Linked DNA regions of Homo sapiens: region 2 is linked to region 1. Evidence: promoter capture Hi-C in human tissues and cell types (Jung and others, 2019). All regions are on one chromosome and are shown on one strand. Each heading gives the region's core, a stretch centred on a gene start or on the middle of the fragment in contact. The rest is flanking DNA. Distances are from core to core; before and after follow the strand shown.

Region 1 (6,338 bases), core at 1-2,500:
ATTGAAAAGAATTTTGGATAATTCCATGTAGGTATCTCCCAGTGCTGCGCAGGTGACTTTAGCTGTCAGCTCTCAATTATCCTGCCAGTGTTATAACTAACAAGTAAGCCATTTACTTGTGCCTTTGGGTTAGATCAGTTCTGTGGCCACAACAGCTCTTCCCTAAATAAGTTTAGGTCATAGTGATGCTAAATGCTCAGAGGACACTAATACTAGGCAATCTCTTTCTAAGGTCCTTTCTAGTTCTAATAATTGAGCAGTCTACCCTTTGCACTTCTGGCTGGTCTATGTTACTTCTGGCAAAATACCTTATGTGCTAGTTTGTCCTGTTCCTTCCCTTTACACATAAGGGAACTGAGGCCCAGCGAGGAGAAATGACTCCTTCAAAGGATTAGTGACAGAGCTAGGACTGGAACTCACATGCTACTCTCAGGCCAGATCTTTCAACACAGCTTTTGCCATCCTATATTAAAAAAACAAACAAACAAAACAAAGTATCAGATTTCACCACTCTTGCTTTTGAGGTGGAAAGAAATCCGGATTCCTACAAGCTCACTATGCTAAGCTGATTCCTAAAGTGGAGAAAAAGAAGAGACAAAACCTGTGATATTTGTATTTGGTAAAAACCTAGACTTTCTCAAGGGTGAATTGGGCCTAGGTGTGCCTGGAAGTGAAGAGGGGGCTCTCAAAAGAGCAGAAACTGCACAAGCAAATTTGTCATCCACGAGAAATTCCCATGGGAGTTAAGAAAGTGGGTGGCCCTGGGATTTATGGAGTGACTCTTGACTTGTCTAGATGAGTGCTCCGTAGAAGAAGGGGAATGATGGGAAAAGACCTCAGGAGGGAATCGATCTGGACACAAGGAGGGGACCCCGGACTGGAGACTGGGGCTCACCCCTTTCTCTCAGATGCTGGTGCAGATCCCGGATGAGACGGAAAGAAACCAAGCGTTGGGGGCCACTGGAGCTATCACCGCCCTTGTGCTTCTTCCCCAGCGCGGCCTCAAGCTCGGCCCGCAGCTTTCGGGGTAGCCGCTCTGGCTCCAGCTCCCCGCCGGGGCCCAAAGCACGCACCAATCGCTCGCCCGCAAGCAAAGAGGACGCCATATCTAGCCGGCTCTCCGGTCAGGTGACCCCAACCCGGACTTCCGCCCGCCGCGCGCCGGAAGTAACGCTAAGCGCACCGGAAGTTGCTCTGAGCTCCGGGGTGGGACCAGGCGGGCCAAGAGGGCCGGGACGCCGCGCGGGGCAGTGTGGGACTGGGGCGGAACGCCGCCCGGCCGCGGGTCGGGCTCTGTGTCAGCAGCCGGGCGGGCGCTCGGGCGGGACATGGCAGCCTGTACAGCCCGGCGGGCCCTGGCCGTGGGCAGCCGCTGGTGGTCCCGGTCGCTGACTGGGGCCCGGTGGCCAAGGCCGCTCTGTGCGGCGGCCGGAGCTGGAGCCTTCTCGCCAGCGTCGACCACGACGACGCGGAGGCACCTCTCGTCCCGGTGAGGGACGGAGCCAGGGGGCGCGAGGAACTGGGCCTGGAGCCCAGAGAGCGTGTTCCTAGCCAGTGCGGAGGCCAGGGGCCCGGGCCTGCTGAGGGTGACTGGAGTTTGACCCGGGAGAGGGTCCCGAGCAGGGAGCCGACCTGCGCTGTCTGGGACATGTGCCAGGAGCAGGGAAGCCAGCGCGGCCCAGAGCCCTGGTTGTACAGGGCTGGCCCTGGGGGGGAACAGGTTACCCTCCCCAAGTGAATCCTACTTCCCCGGCTGGGGTCCCCAGCACCGATGTCAGAGGGAAGCTTTTTAATTCAGCCCTAGGGCATTGGCTTGAACCCTCAGCCTTTGGATTTGGTGAAGGTCTGCCTCAGAAAGATGCTAGAGGTGGGAAACGAGACTCTTGGGTGTGGACCCTCGTAGGCCCCAGGTTTCCAAGTGACTTTGGGGAGATCGATTTTCTATCTGTGACTTGGGGAAGGGGGTTTGAGGCCATGGGGATGGTGTGGAAACTGTTTCCACGGATGGGACAGGCGGATCAAATGGGCTGGTGGATCAGTGGGAGGAAGCATAAAGTTCACATCTTCAAAACAGTAAAAACAGCCTTTATTTGAAGGGCCCCTAGAAAGAGCAGCCCTGTTCAGAGTGGTGACTGACATTTTAGTGGCTGATATTAGACACTGAACATTGGGGAGAGATGATAGCTATTTGCAATTTAAGACCCCTGTGAGAATATGAACAAAAACGGTATTGAGAGAGCGATGTGCCGTAGGAAATCTAGAGATGTTTAAGCTTTTCAAGGGCAATGTAAGGGCTACAGGTTAGAGGGGGAGATGGACATGGAATTATAATACAGGACAAATATTTTTTGAGCACCTCTTGTACACTAGGCTCTGAGGGGGCAGTACCAGCTAATCAGACTCAGGCATTGCTCCCAGGGAATTTACAGTATTTAATAAAGATAAGACATGGACACAACTGAAATGTAAAGGGAGCAGGATATTGTTTGATGACTTGTGATATAGAAAATGTAAGAAAAGAAGAAAAAAAGATACTCCCCTTCTAAAAAAATTGAAAAAGTGAGCAAGACAGTTAAAGTGCTGTGGGAGGTCAGGAGGGTGGGTTAGGGAAGAAACAAGGGCAGGGGTACATTTGAGCAGAGTGTGAGGGCATGATATGAAGAATGCCCAGTGAAGAGAGAAGACAGTAGTATGGGAGCGGTCACATCTAACACTGGGAGACTGTGGAGGTTTTCACCAAGGAGGAGGAAAGCCTTTCCTGCTCCAGCTGGTCCCACTACCCCAAACCCTTCTCTGCTGTCATCGCCCTGGCCCCTCAGTATCCTAGGAGCTTTTTCTTATGGATAACTACCATTACCTTCTCAGCTTTTCTGTTGCTTGTTCTTTTCCTTCCTACTCAGAAACCGACCAGAGGGCAAAGTGTTGGAGACAGTTGGTGTGTTTGAGGTGCCAAAACAGAATGGAAAATATGAGACCGGGCAGGTGAGTATTGGGCTGGGTCATCTTTCATTTTCATAGAGTGCTCTGCTTCTGAAAAAAGTCAGATTAGGTCACAGGCCTGCATGGTATGGTGTTCCATTCATTCCACCTTGATGTTTGGTGCCATTCCAGAATCAAATTTGTATTCATTTTTTATTTTATTTATTTATTTTATTTATTTATTTTTTGTGAGACGGAGTTTCAGTCTTGTTGCCCAGGCTGGAGTGCAATGGCATGGTCTCGGCTCACTGCAAGCTCCACCTCCTGGGTTTAAGCAGTTCTCCTACCTCAGCCTCCCTAGTAGCTGGGATTACAAGCATGCGCCACCACACTTGGCTAATTTTGTACTTTTAGTGGAGATGCGGTTTCTCCATGTTGGTCAGGCTGGTCTCGAGCTCCCGACCTCAGGTGATCCACCTGCCTTGGCCTCCCAAAGTCCTGGGATTACTGGCGTGAGCCACCGCACCCAGCCCAGAATCAAATTTTTATAGATAGGGTTTCTGTTCTCCTGGATTTGAATGCACTTAATGTGTCAGTGGGTTCTCTTTCCAAGTTAATGTGGACAGGGATGGTGTGGACTATAGTGAGGTTTAGCCAAGTTGCTGAAGATTTCTCTAACATAGTGGATGGTGGGAAGCCGTGGAGGGAGCTTTCAGAAAAGTATACCTTTGATGCTTTGCCGTAATAAAATTGACTTCAGTGTGGTAAACTCTGGATGTGTGGTTCTTTTTCTATATCAGCTTTGTTCTGGGTCCACTGGGATAGATTTAGGCCCTTCTAGGATATTGTAGGTAAGGAAGACTTTTTGTTTGTTCAACATTTTATTTTTCTGTGTGCCTACAATGGACTAGGCATTGTGCATTAGGGTTAAATCAGAAAGCAAAGTAGACATGATTCCTGCTATTGTGGAGTTTCTAGTCTAGAAAAGAACGATTTGCAAATGGCCAATAGCTGTACATTGTGCTAAGTGGAAGGGAGGTCAGGGAAGGCTTCCTGGAGGCCTAAGCTTTTACCTAAAGGATGAGTAGAGTCAGCCAGGTAAAGAAGAAATAAGAGTGTTCCAGCATTGGTCTGGTTGATCACAGACTTCAAGGGAAGAGGTAGCAAGACCTTGTGCTGGAGTTGCCTCCACCTGTGTTGCTTTGTGGTCTGGGGCCCACCTGGATGGATTTGCTGGACTGCAGACTCACTGAGGCCCCTCTTTCCTTCCAGCTTTTCCTTCATAGCATTTTTGGCTACCGAGGTGTCGTCCTGTTTCCCTGGCAGGCCAGACTGTATGACCGGGATGTGGCTTCTGCAGCTCCAGAAAAGTAAGTTTCCCTGTGGTTGTGCCTCACAGTATCCTCAGGAGGAGATGGCAGACATATGTAATTGGGGTACTAGGGGTGAAGACAGCGTCCTCCTAGGCCTTGGAAACATCCCCAGAGTACTTCTCTGGGACTAAGACCCATGGAGACAAAAGTGCTGAGTGCCAGGGATAGTCTAAGTCAGAGAGTCCCTTTAGGCCTCCTCAGAATGCTTTCCTAAGCCATTCCTAATTTTCATTATGAGTATCCCAGAGGGCATTTGGGGGACAAGTCTTCTTGATTTCTTGATGTTCAGCTGGAGTCTTTCCCTCAATCTCACATCATCCCTAGAATACATTAAAACAGAAAAGGTTCAGCCCCATTAAGTGATCACAGACAGTCCCTGGGATATAAGAAGACAAGAGTACTCTGGGCCCTGGGGACTGAGGTGGCAATTTGATTTTCTCAACATGGCCCCCTTCTTTTAAGAGGTATCCACACGGTCAGATGATGGCTCCATACCATGGTCTTCCATGCTCTATTATTTGCCCCAACTGAGGAGCAGCTGAGCTGAGGTGCTGCAGAGCAGGTGTCCAGCTGGTGCTAAAGCCCCTTTAGATCAGAGACCAGCCTGTTTAGGTGAGGAGGAGTAGGGAGCTGAGTCAGCCACAGCTTCCATTTCTCCTGGGGTGATCTTGGCCTCCTTCTCCCACCCCATAGAGCAGAGAACCCTGCTGGCCATGGCTCCAAGGAGGTGAAAGGCAAAACTCACACTTACTATCAGGTGCTGATTGATGCTCGTGACTGCCCACATATAGTAAGTAAGCAAGATGGCTGGGCTTGGGGGTCCTCTCCATGGAAAGTCCTGCATCCCAATGGGGACAAAGGGAGGGAAGGGGGTCAAACAGAGCCCAGGTCAGTCTTGGTCCCCAAGGCCTTGGACTGCACAGTGGCCAACAAAGCCCTGATTCACGTCTTTTTTTTTTTTTTTGATATGGAGTCTCACTCTGTCGCCAGGCTGGAGTGCAGTGGTGAGATCTCAGCTCACTGCAACCTCTGCCTCCCGGGTTCAAGTGATTCTCCTGCCTCAGCCACCCGAGTAGCTGGGATTACAGGCATCTGCCACCACACCAGCCTAATTTTTGTACTTTTTAGCAGAGACATGGTTTCACCACTGATTCACTTCTTGCCTTAGTCTCAGAGATCTCAGACAGAAGCTGTGACCTTCTTGGCTAACCATGATGACAGTCGGGCCCTCTATGCCATCCCAGGTGAGTAGTTAGCATTTGAATGGTGCCCGTCAAGAAGGAGTCTGGTGTGTCTCAGGGAGAGGATTCTGATGTCCTGTCATCCACTGGGAGGGATTATGATGCTGAGAGGTATGATATCAGGGTTATCCCATACTGGAACAAGGCCAGTTAATGTTTCTTCTCAACCCCATCTCTCTCCTCTCCTGTGAGTTTCACCACTGTCTTTTGCATCTCTGTGCCAGGCTTGGACTATGTCAGCCATGAAGACATCCTCCCCTACACCTCCACTGATCAGGTTCCCATCCAACATGAACTCTTTGAAAGATTTCTTCTGTATGACCAGACAAAAGGTAATCTCTCTCAAGAAGGGGAGGTGGAATGGGAGGGCCTTTTCATCAAAGAATATCATAGAAATAATTCCAGGGCCGGGCACGGTGGCTCACGCCTGTAATCCCAGCACTTTGGGAGGCCCAGGCAGGTGGATCATCTGAGGTCAGGAGTTCAAGACTGGCCTGGCCAACCTGGTGAAACCCTGTCTCTACTAAAAATACAAAAATTAGCTGGGCGTGGTGGTGGGCGCCTGTAATCCCAGCTACCTGGGAGGCTGAGGCAGGAGAATCACTTGAACCCAGGAGGGTGGAGGTTGCAGTGAGCCGAGATTGCACCATTGCATTCCAGCCTGGGCAACAGAGCGAGACTCCATCTCAGGAAAAAAAAAAAAAAAGGCCCGGGTGCTTGTGGCTCACGCCTATAACTCCAGCACTTTGGGAGGCTGACACGGGCAGATCACTAGGTCAAGAGATCAAGACCATCGTGGCCAATG
Region 2 (6,552 bases), core at 324-2,823, 410 kb after region 1:
TGGAATCAAGGTGTCAGCAGGGCTGGTTCTTTCTGGAGGCTCCGAGGGAGAATCTGTTCCCTGTGTATCTCCTCGCTTCTGTGGCTCTGCAATCCAATCCTGGCATGCTGTGGCTTGCAGATGTATCCCTCTGATCTCTACACCCTGTCTTCATGTGGTTTTCCCCCTGTGTCTCTTTGTCTCCAATTTCTCCTTTCTTTTATAAGGACACTAGTCATTGCATTTAGACGCACCCTAAATCCCGGATAATCTCATCTTCAGATCCTTACCTTAATCACATCTGCAAAGATTCTACTTCCAGATAAGATCACATTCACAGGTACCAGGGGTTAGGACTCAATTTCACCCACTATAGGCAAGAACATGTAAATCCTATCTAAGAGAGGAGGCTAAAATTCATGGCAAGAATGAGGATCTGGACCAGATTAATTAGGGTGGGAGGTAAGGGATGAATATGAGGGGCAGGAGGACTGGCTTTCACGTGGTACTATCCATGGTGTGTGTTGGCGGGGCGGGGTGGGGGACAGAACTAGCAGTTACAAAAAGCCGAACTGAACCACCCACCACTTGTCTCATGCCAAAATAGGAGCTGAAAATTTAGTAGTGGCCAGGCACCATGGCTCATGCCTGTAATCCCAGCACTTTGGGAGGCCAAGGTGGTGGGAGGATCCTTGAGGAACTCCCAGTAGTTCGAGACCAGCCTGGACAATGTAACAAGACCCCATCTCCACACAAAAAAATTACAAATTAGCCAGGTGTGGTGATGCATGCCTGTAGTCCCAGCTACTTGGGAGGCTGGGGCAGGAGGATGGCTTGAGCCCAGGAGTTCAAGGTTGCAGTGAACTATGATTGTGCTACTGCTCTCTACTGGTATTTGTTACTCTTCCAGAGATATTTTTAAGGGCAAGAACTCTGAAGTCAGACTGTCGCGTGCAAACCCAGGCTGTTTGGCTGTCTTAGTCCATTTTGGTGCTACAACAGAATATTTGGGATGGACTAATTTATAAAGAATGGAAATTTATTTCTCACAGTTCTAGAGGCTGGGAAGTCCAAGATCAAGGTGCCAGCATCTTGTGAGGATCCTCTTGCTGTATCATCCCATGGAGGAAGGCAAGAGGATAAGAGAGAGAAAAAAGGGGAAAACTGGACCTTTTATAAGAACCCACTCCTTTGATAATGGCATTAATCCATTCTTGAGAGCGGAGTGCTCATGGCCTAATCACCTCTTAGTGGTCTCACCTCTTAATGCCATCACAATGGCAATTAAATGGCAACATGAGTTTGGGAGGGGACAAATATTTAAACCATAGCAATGACTTTGGGTAAATCACTATGCCTAACTTAGGTTGAGTTCCTTAAAAAGAGCCTGAGACAAGATTCCAACGCACTTGATTTATTGAGGGAGTGCTTTTGGGAGAAAAGGGGCAAGGAAAGCAGGATAGAGGTAGCAAATGGATCTAAGCAAGAATGTAATCCCAGCTAGAGTCTAGCTTTTGCTTGACTCCACCGCAAAAAAATTTGGAGGGAGAATTGCACCATACAGTTGGTCCCACTTTGTGGTGGTCCTGCCCTGCATCAACTAGTCAGTGGCTGAGGGCTGCCATAGTGGGAGGGGAAGGCAGTGTATAACTTCCTAGGTGAGACCACTCCTATCCAGCCAGGGGCAATTCTCTGGAAAGAGGGGAAGCTGTGAGTCTTTAGCAGCCAACATTTACAGCCAGGAAAGGGAACTAACAGTATTCACTATGTATAACTTTGTATACTTCAGTTTCCTCAACTACAAAATGGAGCTGGTAATAGTAACTATCTCATATGATTGTTAAGCCATTTAAATATGTTAATATATGTGAAGCCTGCCACATGTACATGTTCAGTAAATCTTAGCTATGATTATTGTAATATTTATTGATGAGTAACAAACCATCCCAAAATTTAGCAGCTTAAAATAACAAACATTTATTAGATAACTCAGTTTCCGAGGACTAGAAATTAGGAATGGCTTAGATGGGTGGTTCTGGTTGATGGCCTTTCACGAAGATGCAGTGAAATGTCAGCTGGGGCCGCAGTCATTTGAAGGTTTGACTGGGGCTGGACAGTCTGCTTCCAAGGTGGCACACTCACGCAGCTATTGGCAGGAGGCCTCAGTTCCTTACTCCATGGACATCTGCATTGGCTGCTTGTGTGTCCTAGTGATGTGGCAGGTGGCTTCTACCTTAGCAAACAATCCAAAAGAGGGAACTAGGAGGAATCTACAAAACACTTTATAACCCAGACTTGGAAATCACACACCATAACTTCTGCTATATTTTATCGGTCATGAGTCACCCAGTCCAAGCCATGCTCAAGGAGATGGGAATTAAGTTCTGTCTCTTAAAAGGAACAATATTGAATAACTGTGGAATTTAAAATCTACCACAATTAGTTATTGTTAATTTCTATAGTAAGCTTGGAAACTACTGATTTGTCCTCCAAGGAAAATTTGTGTTTGAAAAATGAACACACAAGTAGGCCACGAATAAATCTCAAGCAATGGATCATTCATGCATTTACATAAAGTAGCTGTCTTTTTACTATTATTATTATTCTATATCTAGAAATAAAGTAGTTGTTTCTGGGAAGGGGAGACTTGCAGGGCCCGCTGAATAACACCATACCTTCCATTTGCACACTAGCATACCGCCACTGCCCCAGAAAAATTCCACTTCTCTTGATTGGCCAGTGGAGTCCAAGAAGCTGCAAACCTCTGGTATAGTCAATTGTTTAACCTTTCCTAACTACACACACAAACACACACACACACACCCCTCATGATTCTGTTCTGCTTAATCTTTTAGCTTCCTGGATTCACTCACTAAACCTGGCTCCTTCTGGCTGTATTCTGGGTTTGTCGACCTTGGTTTCCCATGCGACTTTCAGCGTTGCTTACTTTCTGGTCTCTAGCTTCCAGGAATACCATCCTTCCCTCTCCAGCCCAAGCTCTGGACTGGGCCAGCCTCTGCCCAATGCTCAGGCCTGCAGGACCAGGGGGATTCAGGCTTACTCAGCCTTCCTGTCCTTTCTCGCCACAAACTTCCAACTTCCATCCTTTGCTACTGGATCGATTGGCCAGGTCTTCACTACCAGACCAAAACAAAGGGTGGGGACAATTATTTAGATCATTCAGACACTCACTCAAGCAAAAACAATGATTTTATTTCCCCTGAATGATCCAGATAATTATTTTAATTCTCTGCTTCACTTTGTCTCTGGAGCCCTGACCTCTTCATTCTATGACTCTAGTTAAAATTTGGTCCCAGTGATAAATATTTCTTGTCTAATTGTCTTCTCCACTCATGTTCCACAAGAGGTGATTTCCAGGGAAAAGGATCTGTAGGTAAATGAGCATTAACTTCAATCCTGGGCAATGTGAAAATTAAAATAAAGCTGTCATGGCATACGTTCTATCCACATTTCACTTTCTGGAAGGGCCCCTCTATTTCATCCCTCCCCAACCCCTGTCACACACAGCAGCAAGGAGCAAATTACCATTTATTAAACTCTAATTATCATTCCCATTTTTCAATACCATTCTCTGTGTATGTGTGCAGCACACCAGCCTGTACTCACTGCCATTAAATCAGCAATAAGTCTTGTTAGCATAGCATCCATATTTATAGGCAGGATTGAGTGATGCTCAGTGACATGGTATAAAGTCGAATGCCCTTAATAGAAGGTTAGGGACATGTCCTGATTTTGGAGTGATCCAGCCACATGGCAGATGTGGGAGGTTTGAGGGGACTTAAAGCTTTAGACTGTTTTGAGACAGTGTCACAGAGACTTGGAGGCTGGCAGGCGATGACAGTGTCCTGCTCTGTTGCCGTCAGAACAACAGGTCAGAAAGTACGTTGCAGATCCCGTTGGAACTGGCTGGGTTCTTTCCACTCCTCTGGACCTGGGATGTCCAGGCCGGGCATTTGCCCGAGCAACACGAGTTTCTTGTAAGATTCTTTGTTAATTACCTCCTTCGCTAGGTAACCATCAAGTGGTTGTCAGGAGAGTCATATGTGATAGGCCAAGTCCTTTATCTTATCAGTAGGGGAGATTGGCTGTGTGGCTGGCACCTTGTCAGCCAGGGTTCATGGGTATAACATGTCCAATGTGTCTAGCCCAACAAACTCAGATGTGTACAACTCCAAAGTCCACGTCCTTTTTACTAATACTGAGCATCTCTCCCTAGAAATTAAAAGCGGACTCCTTCATTTCCTGTTTCTCATTGCAAAACTTTGCCGTGACTTCTGATAAGCACACAGGTGCCCAGTCACCATCTTGTGACCAAATGCTGCCCAAAGAGACGCAGCATGACCTGCTCACTCCATAGGGTCCTGCTTCTCCCACCCCAATTCCATAGCACTTGCCAAGTGGTCCTGCCCATCTGAGGCAGCTTCATGCTTCACTGGCTGCCCATCACCCTTCCCGGCCCAGGTAAGGTTCGGGAGCCTCCGGAGCTTACCTGCTCATCAGTTCCCTGATGAGCCCCAGGGCTTACCTGGTCTCCCGCTGCTCACCTTAACTCATTAGATTCAGGATCTGGGAGCTAGAAGGAGCATAAGAACTTGGCCTAACAGTTTCATTCTGCAGACAGGTCAGAGGCACAGAGGCAGGGGTGGGGAGGTCCCCTTCCCCCTTCACAGACACCTGGTGTCTCTTCACCTATTGTTCAGCAGGGGCTGGCAGCTCCCTGCAGTGTAATCACCCTCAGCTCATTAACAGGCTGTGCTCATTTGCATATCTAAATATCCCTGTACATAGAAAACAGAGACTATTACATCTTTCCCTTACGTGTATACATGAAAAAAGCAGAGAGGAGGCAGACAGGAAAGACAGATCACACCCCTTTCCCCATCCCTCCCAGTCACCTGTTGGTCAGTTTTGTTTTGCTTTTCAAACCAGCCCATTTTTTCCTTGCAGACAGAGCATCAGTAAACTATCTTGTAGCTACTGCCTCCTTCATTTTCATATGAAAAAGCTATGAGTCTGCCCTATTTTTACTTTCCTTAATTTTACCTCTTCTCTGGCTCCACTTCCAAAAGGACACCCCAACCCCTCAAAAAAAACAAAAACAAAACCAAAAAACCATAGCCTTCTACATCCATCAGCTTTATGCAAATGTATCAACACACCCACCCTCATTCAGCATGCTCAGAAACAGGAACTGTCTATCTATAGATCAGCCTGATTGCAGTTCATTTTTATACAGTTTAGGAAGCGTGAAAAGTCACAGGCTGGGGATAAAACAGCCTGAAATCGTCATACAGATGATCATGGCACATGTAGATCATTTATTCCAGGAGTGCCTTGATGGGCCCCCAGAATTCACCCCTATGGATTTCTCATCAGTTTGTAGGGAAAAATGGTGCTCTAATGATGCCATCTAGGGTTATGCCATCTTAATCATAGGTGGGGGGCACTCATCGCTGCCCAGCTGCCAGCTTTCTGGGAAAATATCTCCAAAACAGCAGACCCCAAGGCAGGAGGATCTGCCCTGAGAGATGGAGTGGCTGGGGGTGAAAGTCTGGACAGTAGTGGGACTTGCTCCCAGCTTTGTACCTTCACCCACTCTGCAAGCATTTATTGGGCCCCCTACTGTGTTCACAGTGCACTTTTAAGTGCTTGCTACGTATCATTCACTATTCCAATTGCTTTACAAATACTAACTCATTTAATCCTCATCACAATCCTCAATCCTATGAGGCAGGTGCTATTATCCTCACTTTACAGATGAGAAAACTGAGACACAGAGAGGTTAAGTGACATGCCCAAAGTCACACAGCTGATAAGTGTGAAGCCAGGATTCTAACTCAGTCAGCCTGGCATCAGCCTGTGCTCTCAATCATTATGGAGAGCTTTCCATGTAGCCGGAACAATGACACAATGCGGTGACGACTATTTGTCCCTTGCTTCTCTGCATCCATTCACTCTTATTCTCTTCTGGGGAATCCACTTCGCCTGGAAGTAGCTGGGGTGCATTTGGCTCCATTCCCACCTCCTGGGGTAGGTTTCACTGGTCTAGGCAGCTCACCAAATCCCATTCTCAGCCACCCTGATTGGTTGGGATCAGGCACATGGATGGCCACAGAGAGTGAATCCCAGGGGTTCTGAGAGAGACTCTCTCTTCCACATGACAGAGCAACGTACGGAGGGGATGGTGCTGGGTGGGGTAAGTGAGAGCTGAAGGACTAGCATGTGGAGCTTAAGGATGGATACATGGAAGCCAGAGCAGAGGCAAAGACACCACTCAAGTCTTTGCTAAAACTGTTTAGGCTACTGGATCAGGCTTTGCCTAAATCTAGTACCATCTTCAAACTTTTCAATTGCACAACACATAGTAGGCTCTTGATAGATATTTGCTGAAAACATGAGCTAATAAAACCCCTTTATTGGGTAAACCAGTTTAAGTTGAGTTTTCTGTAATTGGCAACTGAAAGATTCCTATCTGATATACACACATACTTGTGATGAAATAAACATAAGAAAAATGTGGTATATCTGTACACAGCACACACCAGGAGATTA

What was found. Contacts are between HindIII fragments. The study calls those that stand out against the background at their distance.
Region 2: a contact is called between a fragment that was not itself captured here and the fragment with the promoter of POLDIP2 in region 1, in 1 of the 25 tissues and cell types used here (dorsolateral prefrontal cortex).

What each region holds. Positions count from the first base shown.
Region 1 is chr17:28,352,439-28,358,776 of GRCh38, reverse strand. It overlaps POLDIP2 (DNA polymerase delta interacting protein 2), which reads left to right and starts at 1,250. Exons shown (of 11, transcript NM_015584.5): 1 at 1,250-1,489; 2 at 2,901-2,982; 3 at 4,192-4,289; 4 at 4,986-5,082; 5 at 5,461-5,536; 6 at 5,758-5,865. The coding sequence starts at 1,329. It overlaps VMA12 (vacuolar ATPase assembly factor VMA12), which reads right to left and starts at 1,130. Exons shown (of 6, transcript NM_152464.3): 1 at 896-1,130. The coding sequence starts at 1,106. RefSeq lists enhancers at 873-972, 1,085-1,850 and a silencer at 1,163-1,552. The HindIII fragment of the contact is 19,434 bases long and covers 1-2,029 here.
Region 2 is chr17:27,938,277-27,944,828 of GRCh38, reverse strand. The region is part of intron 2 of LINC01992 (long intergenic non-protein coding RNA 1992); the gene reads left to right. Among named protein-coding and RNA genes, the nearest start is that of LYRM9, 48 kb to the right of the region's middle. The HindIII fragment of the contact is 3,084 bases long and covers 32-3,115 here.